Regions from separate parts of the Homo sapiens genome. Here regions 1 and 2 are each linked to region 3. The links are contacts of gene promoters, found by promoter capture Hi-C in blood cells and fetal thymus (Javierre and others, 2016). All regions are on one chromosome and are shown on one strand. The core of a region is centred on a gene start or on the middle of the fragment in contact, and the rest is flanking DNA. Distances in the headings are between cores, read along the strand shown. Region 1 overlaps N4BP2 (NEDD4 binding protein 2). Region 2 overlaps N4BP2 (NEDD4 binding protein 2). Region 3 holds the start of RBM47-AS1 (RBM47 antisense RNA 1).

Region 1 (2,700 bases), core at 85-2,584, 270 kb before region 3:
ACAATTTCATGTGCTTGAGTAGCTAAGGTTTACGTTTTCTATTGAGAATGTAAGATAAATGAATTTTAACTCCCCTGATTTCTGTTGTAACAGAATTTAAGCAGAACGGTGGGAAGCCCTATTTGTCTGTGATTACGGGGAGAGGAAACCACAGCCAGGGAGGAGTTGCTCGCATCAAACCAGCTGTCATTAAGTACCTCATAAGCCATAGCTTCAGGTGAGTGTAGATTTCTGTTATTAATAATGGCAACTGCCCATATAGATCTTTATCAGATATTTCTGTGAGTATAGATTTCTGTTATTGATAATAGCAATAGCCCTAATATAGCTAGGTAAATAAACACTAATAGCGTACTCAGAACAATCTGTTAAAATAGTTAACTAAATTTAATCATCTGATTTCAGCCACAGATTCATGCTTAAATTATGATATAACTTTCCCTGCTGGATTTATGTTGTCTGGTAAACCAGAAATAAGGAAAAATGTGTTTGTTGCCAATAATCATCTGATAAAACTTTCTATCATAAATTTAAAGTTCTAAAAGAAAGTAAATATATTTGTTTCTTTGATAATATGCAAAATAATTAGGTAATATGTATCATACTTTAAGATTTGCTATTATTCTTTTGAAAGGAAATCAGTATTTGTGGATTTTGGATGGAATTGGGTGGCTTCTATTGAAATATAGTTATAATTTAGGTACGTTTAAACTTTAGCAGAAATGTTCAGTTAATATGAATTTATTTGTGTTTTCATAAGTTAAATGCCATTAATGACCTGTGTTGACAAACATGAAATGTTCTTTTTCATTAAGTGATAATTATTTAATAACAGAAAATGACAAGAAAGTCAAAGATGAAATATCTGTTGATGGATAGATTTCCTGCAGATGTGTATCATTAACTCCTACCCACCAATTTCAGTGTAGCATATTTATTTTATGCCATGTAATAAGATGTTATTTGGCTACATTATCGAAAATGATAGCATAAGTTATGAGCATAAAACAGGTGACATCAGGGTTATTTTTATAAAAGGAGTAGTTAGACCAGAACATTATGTTGAGATTAATTATCTATTTTAGAGACTAGTCTTCCTTTAAATTCTCTCCGGATAGAGTTGAAAGCATTGCATGGCCAGATTAATCAGACTTACCTGATATATCAGAGATTTCTTCTTGGTGCTTTCATGATGCACCAAGGACTTTATTCTTCCTACAGCATACTCTTTTTCATAAAGGTAAAATTCAGGCCTCACAGGTTTTGACAAATCTTAAGTTATACTAAGTCAAGAGCAACCTCCAGCTTTAAGATTGTATTTGTTTTGACCGTAGATAAAAGGAACACAAACCTAGATGTTGGTCTTGGATATTGACTTAATAAGGGTCAATACTTTGGTAGTAAATATTATATTAAGCGTAGGTACTTGGAATTGATTACAAGGTATATTCCTTAGCTAATTTGAAATTTTCATCTTTAAAATAACTCTTTTCTCATTTCTGCAGGTTCTCTGAAATTAAACCAGGGTGCTTGAAAGTCATGCTAAAGTAAAATAAACATCCTTGAATTAGAAGTATGAAGGTTTGTAGGTTAAAATTACTTTTATTTGCAGTAATTCAGTCAATTCTACCCTAAAGATGTGTTTTATTATAAATAATATTCAATTATGAAACAAAAAAATTATGATGTTTTTCAAAATGCAAGTGAGGTTTGATTTTTTACTGAATCAAATGCAAATGTTACCTGTTAAAGATATTACAGAGAAATTTTATTGATTACAAAATATGTAAGAAAATTATCAGCTACAGTTTTAAAGTTTAAAATGCTCTGATTGTTTCTCAGAAAAGGTTACCTTTGTATTAATTGTTGTATGACATTTAGTAATGTCCTAAAAGTCTTTTGTGAGAGGTATTTAAAGTGCTTTGAGACCTGATTCATGCCCCCCAAAGGGTGGTATTAAAAGAGGAAAAAGGACATAGTAGTGGTAGTAAAGAAAAAAAGGAGATCTAACAAAAACACTTGAATATTTTTTATTTTCAAAACTAAACACATAAAATGCTTTTATTTTGCCATATCCTACAGGAAGGAAGACATGCTTTTGCCCTTTCTTCTGCTTTGTATATGACCTTGATCTTTTACCTTTTGTTCTGTTCTTCTGTGTGCATTTTATGGAAAGAAAGTTGGGTCTGAGATTATATTGTAATTTTATACTTTCTATAGACAGAAAGGTTTTCAGAGAAAAAGAAATGGTTAAATATCTTCCAGATGTTGCTGCCTTATCGAAATGCTTCTAGAACTGTCTGTATAAGTCGTATTTCAGACAGTACTAAATACTTATATTTTATTTTTGAGGCATGTAATTTTAAAACTGCAGTAGGTTAAAATTCTATTAAACAAATATAGAAAATATTTTGTTTATAATTGGCCTGGTGTGGTGGCCCACGCCTGTAATCCCAGCACTTTGGGAGGCCGAGGTAGGTGGATCGCCTGAGGTCAGAAGTTCAAGACCAGCCTGGCCAACATGGTGAATCCCCGTCTCTATTAAAAATACAAAAATTAGCTGGGTGTGGTGGCGTGTGCCTGTAATCCCAGCTACTTGGGAGGCTGAGGCAGGAGAACCGCTTAAACCTGGGAGGTGGAGGTTGCAGTGACCCGAGATCGAGATCACACCACTGCACTCAGCCTGGGTGACAGAGCAAG
Region 2 (2,700 bases), core at 39-2,538, 320 kb before region 3:
CAGTGTCCCCTTTGTAAAAGGGAATAATAATACTTAACTCCCAGGATTGTTGTGAAAGTTAAATGAAGGTGAAAAGTGTTAACATTGGCTGGGCGCGGTGGCTCATGCCTGTAATTCCAGCACTTTGGGAGGCTTAGGCAGATGGATCACCTGAGGTCAGGAGTTTGAGACCACCCTGGCTAACATGGCGTTACCCCATCTCTACTAAAAATACAAAAATTAACCGGGCATGGTGGTGCACACCTATAGTCCCAGCTACTTGAGAGGCTGAGGCAGGAGAATTGCTTGAACCTGGGAGGCGGAGGTTTCAGTGAGTCAGGATCCCACTACTGCACTCCAGCCTGGGTGACAGAGCAAGACTCTGTCTCAAAAAAAAAAAAAGTGTTAGCATGGTTCAGCATGCCCTTATAACAGCAACAATAATATATGTTAATAGGCGGAATTCATTTTAAAACTGCTTTGTTAAGACAAAATTCATGTGCCATACAAATCATCCATTTAAATTGTATAATTCAGTAGTTTTTAGAACTTAATATTCAGGGCTGTGCATTCGTTAATACACTCTATTTAATTTGGCTTTGCTGCAACTTTTAGAACACGCTAAATTTTAGAACATTTTTATCATCTCAGAAAGATTCTGTACCTATTAGCAGTCACTCTTCATTTCTTTCCAGTCTGTGTTTTGTCCCTATAGATAATTTGCCTATTCCAGACATTTCCTACAACATGTGGACTTTTGTGATTGGCTTCTTTCACTTAGTATAATGTTTTCAAGCTTCATCCATGTTGTAGCATGTGTTTCATTCCTTTATATGGATGAGTAAGATTCCACTGGGTGGATATATCACATTTTATTAATCTATTCATCAGTTAATAGACATTTGAGTTGTTTTCACTTTTTGGCTATTAAGAACAGTGCTGCTATAAACAAACACACATGTCTATGTCTAACCTTTTTAGGAACTGCCATGCTGTTTTCCAAAGCAATCATACCTTTTTATGTTTCCTCTAATAATTTATGAGGGTTTCAACTTTTCTACATCCTCACCAACACTTGTTATTGTCCGTTTTTTTGATTATTCCTATTCTGGTAGGTGTGAAGTGGTATCTCACTGTGGTTTCAATTTGCTTTTCTCTGATGGCTAATGATGTGGAACATCTTTTTGTGTGTTTTTTGGCCATTTGTATATCTTCTCTGGAGAAATGTCTATTCATATTTGCTCTGTCACTTAGACTGGAGTGCAGTGGCACGATCTTGGCTCATTGCAACCTCCGCCTCCTGGGTTCAAGTGATTCTTGTGCCTCAGCCTCCTGAGTAGCTGGGATTACAGGTGCAAGCCACTACGCCCGGCTAATTTTTGTATTTTTAGTAGAGACGGGGTTTCACTGTGTTGGCCAGGATGGTCTCGAACTCCTAACCTCAGGTGATCCGCCCGCCTCAGTATCCCAAAGTGCTGAGATCATAGGTGTGAGGTACCGTGCCCAGCCTCCTTTGCCCATTTTTAAATTGGTTCTTTGTTTCTTCATTAGTGAGTTGTTAGAGACTGGGCAGAACTTTGAAAACTTCCAAATAAATTACTTGTAAGACTTACTTGTTGTGGTACATCATTAATTTCCTGTATGGTCTAATTCCTTTGGAAGAAAGGTAAGAAAATCCCTTGTGCAATGGTGTATTATAATGTTTTCTTTATTTCAGATCATTACATTGTGTGTGTGTATATTTGTCCATTTGTTTTTGTTGTTTGTTTTTAAACTTTATTTTTGAATATTAGATATATGGAAAAGTTGCAGAGATACTATGGAAAGCTTCTGTATACCCTTCACTCATTTATCCTTCATGTTAACATCTAATATAACGAGGATACATTTGTCAAAACTAAGAAATTGGTTTATTATTATTAACTAAACTCAAGACTATAGTTTGATTTTAATTTTTCTACTCAAGGTCTTTCTCTCTTACTTGACAGTCTTAATATGTGGGGTTTTTTTGAGACGGAGTCTTACTCTGTCACCCAGGCTGGAGTACAATGGCGTGGTCTCAGCTCACTGCAACCTCCGCATACCGGGTTCAAGTGATTCTGCTGTCTCAGCCTCCCAAGTAGTTGGGACTACAGGTGCGTGCCACCACACCTGGCTAATTTTTGTATTTTTAGTGGAGACGGGGTTTCAATATGTTGGCCAGGTTGGTCTCGAACTCCTGACCTCATGATCCGCCTGACTTGGCCTCCCAAAGTGCTGGGATTACAGGCATGAGCCACCGCGCCCGGCCTTGTTTTGTATTTTTTAGGCAGAGTCTTACTCTGTTGCCCAGGCTGGAGTGCAGTGGCCTGATCTTGGCTCACTGCAACATCTGCCTCCTGGTTTCAAGTGATTCTCTTACCTCAGCCTCCTGAGTAGCTGGGACTACAGGTGGGCACCACCACACCCAAATAATTTTTGTATTTTTAGTAGAGATGGGCTTTCACCATGTTGGCCAGGCTGGTCTTGAACTCCTGGCCTCAAGTGGTCTGCCCGCTTTGGCTTCCCAAAGTGCTGGGATTATGGGCATGAGCCACCATGCCCAGCCAACCCATACTTACTTAATTTTTATGTCCTCAAAGGGATATTTAGAAGTTGAGCAGTGAGTAAAATTAGCACATCATGATTTTCAAATTATGAAAAGATCAGATTTTTTGAAAATCATAATACTTAGTATTGTTT
Region 3 (2,700 bases), core at 19-2,518:
TACATTGGGCAATTAAATAGCTATGCAAAGGTGTCTTATGCAACTCGATTAAAACCTTGTGCTTACTCTGCTACTGAAAATAGCACACGTAGAAGACAATACTTCCCCAACCAAACAAAAAAAAAAACAAAAAACAACGAAACAACAAACCCCAACAAAAACCCAGGAAGAAGTATAAAAGCCACCAGCTCCTCTATCAGAGCTACTTATCAGTCCTAGGCTTGCCAAACATTGCGGTGGGATTGGGAATCTGGGGAGGAGGGGACAGGGTGAGAGATGTGGGAGTGGGGGCATGTTTAAGGCTAAGGCACATGGAGAATGAGCCCCGGCTAACGGTGGCAAAGGAGAGCTTTCCAGTGTTTGGACTCAGAAGTGCGGCAAGTCTTTTCAATGTTGGCTTAAGGAGAGATCCAGTGTTTAATTTCTTTTAAAAAATAGTACCGCCATGATGATACATGGTAACACCATCAACCCTTAATGCCAGCAGAAATACAGAGGTTTTACTCATTTTAAAATTGCACTTTCCAGTATAACCTTTAAAATAATGCTTTATGTAGTATTTTTAAGCACTACTGTTTGTATCTTTAAATATTGTATATATTTTTCAAAATAGTTCCCTAGCTCCTCAAGTGTGCTTTTTTAATATATAGTTGATATATTATTGAAGGTACTACAAAATAGAAATCTCTGGAGTGCAGAAGTTAAGAAAATAACCTTCATACTGAAAATATATCCTTAAAAAAACAACAACAAAAACCTCTATACAAATGTAGTACAGCATACAAATTTTTAAAAGATGGAATGAAGGCACGAACCATTGCAAGTCTTTTGGAAATGTATGAACGTAGGCATGCTAAGTTGAAAATAGTCTTAAAAAACTAGTGAAAACTTCATGTATATAAAATAATTCAGAAATAAATCTGCTAACATTCTTCACTTTCAGGTTGCATGTGTGAATCCAACATGTTCCTTCTTCATAAATAGTCAAGCGTTCCTTCAGTGGTGTTTGTGTGGTCTGTCTTCGTGCTGGTCACCAGCCTCAGTATGTCTGGTAGACGTCGGGGATGGGGACCTGAATGGCAGCAGCAGGGAAGGCCTGAGGTATGTAGCCTGCGTATCCTCCATACATGGCGGCCGCGGCTGCCGCGTTCTTCTGTAGTGTGGCGATCGTGGCTGTAGCTGGAGCAGCAAATGGCACGTAACTGGCCCCGTAGATCCCGGCAGTAGGAATTCTCTGAACGTTTGGAGCCACCGTGTATACTGGAGTTATTGGGCGGCCCTGAGGAGAAGAGACAAAAAGGAGCCTTCCTGAACACGTGTATGTACCTATCATCCATTCATTCAACAAGCCTCTCCCAGAAGACGGGAATACAAAGACACAAAAGCAAGGGAGAGAAAGGCAGAGGGGCGGGCAAACAGCAATTATTGTAAGCAAGTGGGAGAAGAGCCACTGAAGAGGTAAGGTGGAGCTGCATCCTCAAACTCAGTGATGCCACCTTGTGAAAGTGAGAGGCCTGGAAGGCTGAGGGAAAGGTGAAATACAGTTGCCCCTCAGTATCCTCACAGGTGATTGGCTCTAGGACCTCCGTGGATACCAAAATCCTCAGATGCTCGAGTCCCTGAGAGAAAATGGCGTATTTGCATTTAACCTATGCACATCCTCCTGTATACTGTAAAAAAATTTTTTTTCATAGAGACAAGGTCTCACTATGTTGCCCAGGGCTGGTCTTGAACTCCTGGCCTCAAGCAATCCTCCTGTCTCAGCCTCCCAAAGTCTTGGGACCCATACACTTTAAAAATAATCTCTAGATCACTTATAATACCTAATATGATGCAAATGTTATGTAAATAGTTGTTATATCGTATTTTGACATTTGTATTTTTTTATTGTTGTATTGTTATTTTTTATTGTCTTTATTCAAGCCACGGTTGGTTGAATCCAGATGCAGAAACTGCGGATAAGGAGGACCTTCTCTGTACTGTATTCCGGAATCTTCTACTTACCATTCCACTCAATCAGTCTATGCCCCAGAGTGAGCTAGAGAAGGCAGCGGAGAATCTACCATCCACACAATTGATTTCACAGTAATTAAAAATCAGTGTTTTTCCTTAAACATGGCCTCTAGATACATGCCAGCTGCCTCAACTCATACTTAACTGATGGAATATGATCTGTCTCAGAGACAGAGAGAGGAACAGACTGTGTCAACTTAGAGAAACCAAATATACTGATCTCCAAAGGGACAGCTTCTTAAGCTGTGACCTTAAAAAATTGTGACCATACACAATTTTCAGCCAATGTGATGGTTTCCATCACCTCCCACCTAAGAGATGACACCATTAATGTATACAAATTGTTGTAGAAGCTTAGAGAAAGAACCAACTAATGGGGAAGTTGGAGAAAATGTCTCAGCAGCGGGGATATTCGAGCTGAGTTTTGAAGGATAAAGAGCAGTTTCCAAATGAGGAAGAAGTGGGCAAGGACAAGCTAAGTAAAGTTGCCTGAACTGTTGACGGCCACCACTGGCTCTAGAAAAGCCCCTGCTACTTCCTTCTGTCTACTTGAAAGTGCAACATAAGATGTTTTCAGAACAAACAGGAGTATGAATGGGAAGACTGTGGTTCAGTATTTCCCAAAGTGTTTGCCATGGAACTAGTTCTGTGAGATGCTTCATTGAAAAGAGATTCTGAATAAAATAA

What was found. The method cuts DNA at HindIII sites, captures the fragments that hold promoters and counts their contacts. A CHiCAGO score of 5 or more calls a contact.
Region 1: a contact is called between a fragment that was not itself captured here and the fragment with the promoter of RBM47-AS1 in region 3, in 1 of 17 cell types (M1 macrophages). The highest score is 7.0, in M1 macrophages.
Region 2: a contact is called between a fragment that was not itself captured here and the fragment with the promoter of RBM47-AS1 in region 3, in 1 of 17 cell types (naive B cells). The highest score is 5.5, in naive B cells.

The regions. Positions count from the first base shown.
Region 1 is chr4:40,152,687-40,155,386 of GRCh38, forward strand. It overlaps N4BP2 (NEDD4 binding protein 2), which reads left to right. Exons shown (of 18, transcript NM_018177.6): 17 at 94-217; 18 at 1,506-2,700. The coding sequence ends at 1,551. Among named protein-coding and RNA genes, the nearest start is that of RHOH, 43 kb to the right of the region's middle. The HindIII fragment of the contact is 3,367 bases long and covers 1-2,700 here.
Region 2 is chr4:40,109,350-40,112,049 of GRCh38, forward strand. The region is part of intron 5 of N4BP2 (NEDD4 binding protein 2); the gene reads left to right. Among named protein-coding and RNA genes, the nearest start is that of N4BP2, 54 kb to the left of the region's middle. The HindIII fragment of the contact is 1,031 bases long and covers 774-1,804 here.
Region 3 is chr4:40,424,865-40,427,564 of GRCh38, forward strand. RBM47-AS1 (RBM47 antisense RNA 1) reads left to right here and starts at 1,269. Exons shown (of 2, transcript NR_199039.1): 1 at 1,269-1,318; 2 at 1,924-2,700. It overlaps RBM47 (RNA binding motif protein 47), which reads right to left. Exons shown (of 7, transcript NM_001098634.2): 7 at 1-1,279. The coding sequence ends at 1,040. RefSeq lists an enhancer at 558-1,757. The HindIII fragment of the contact is 3,876 bases long and covers 1-2,364 here.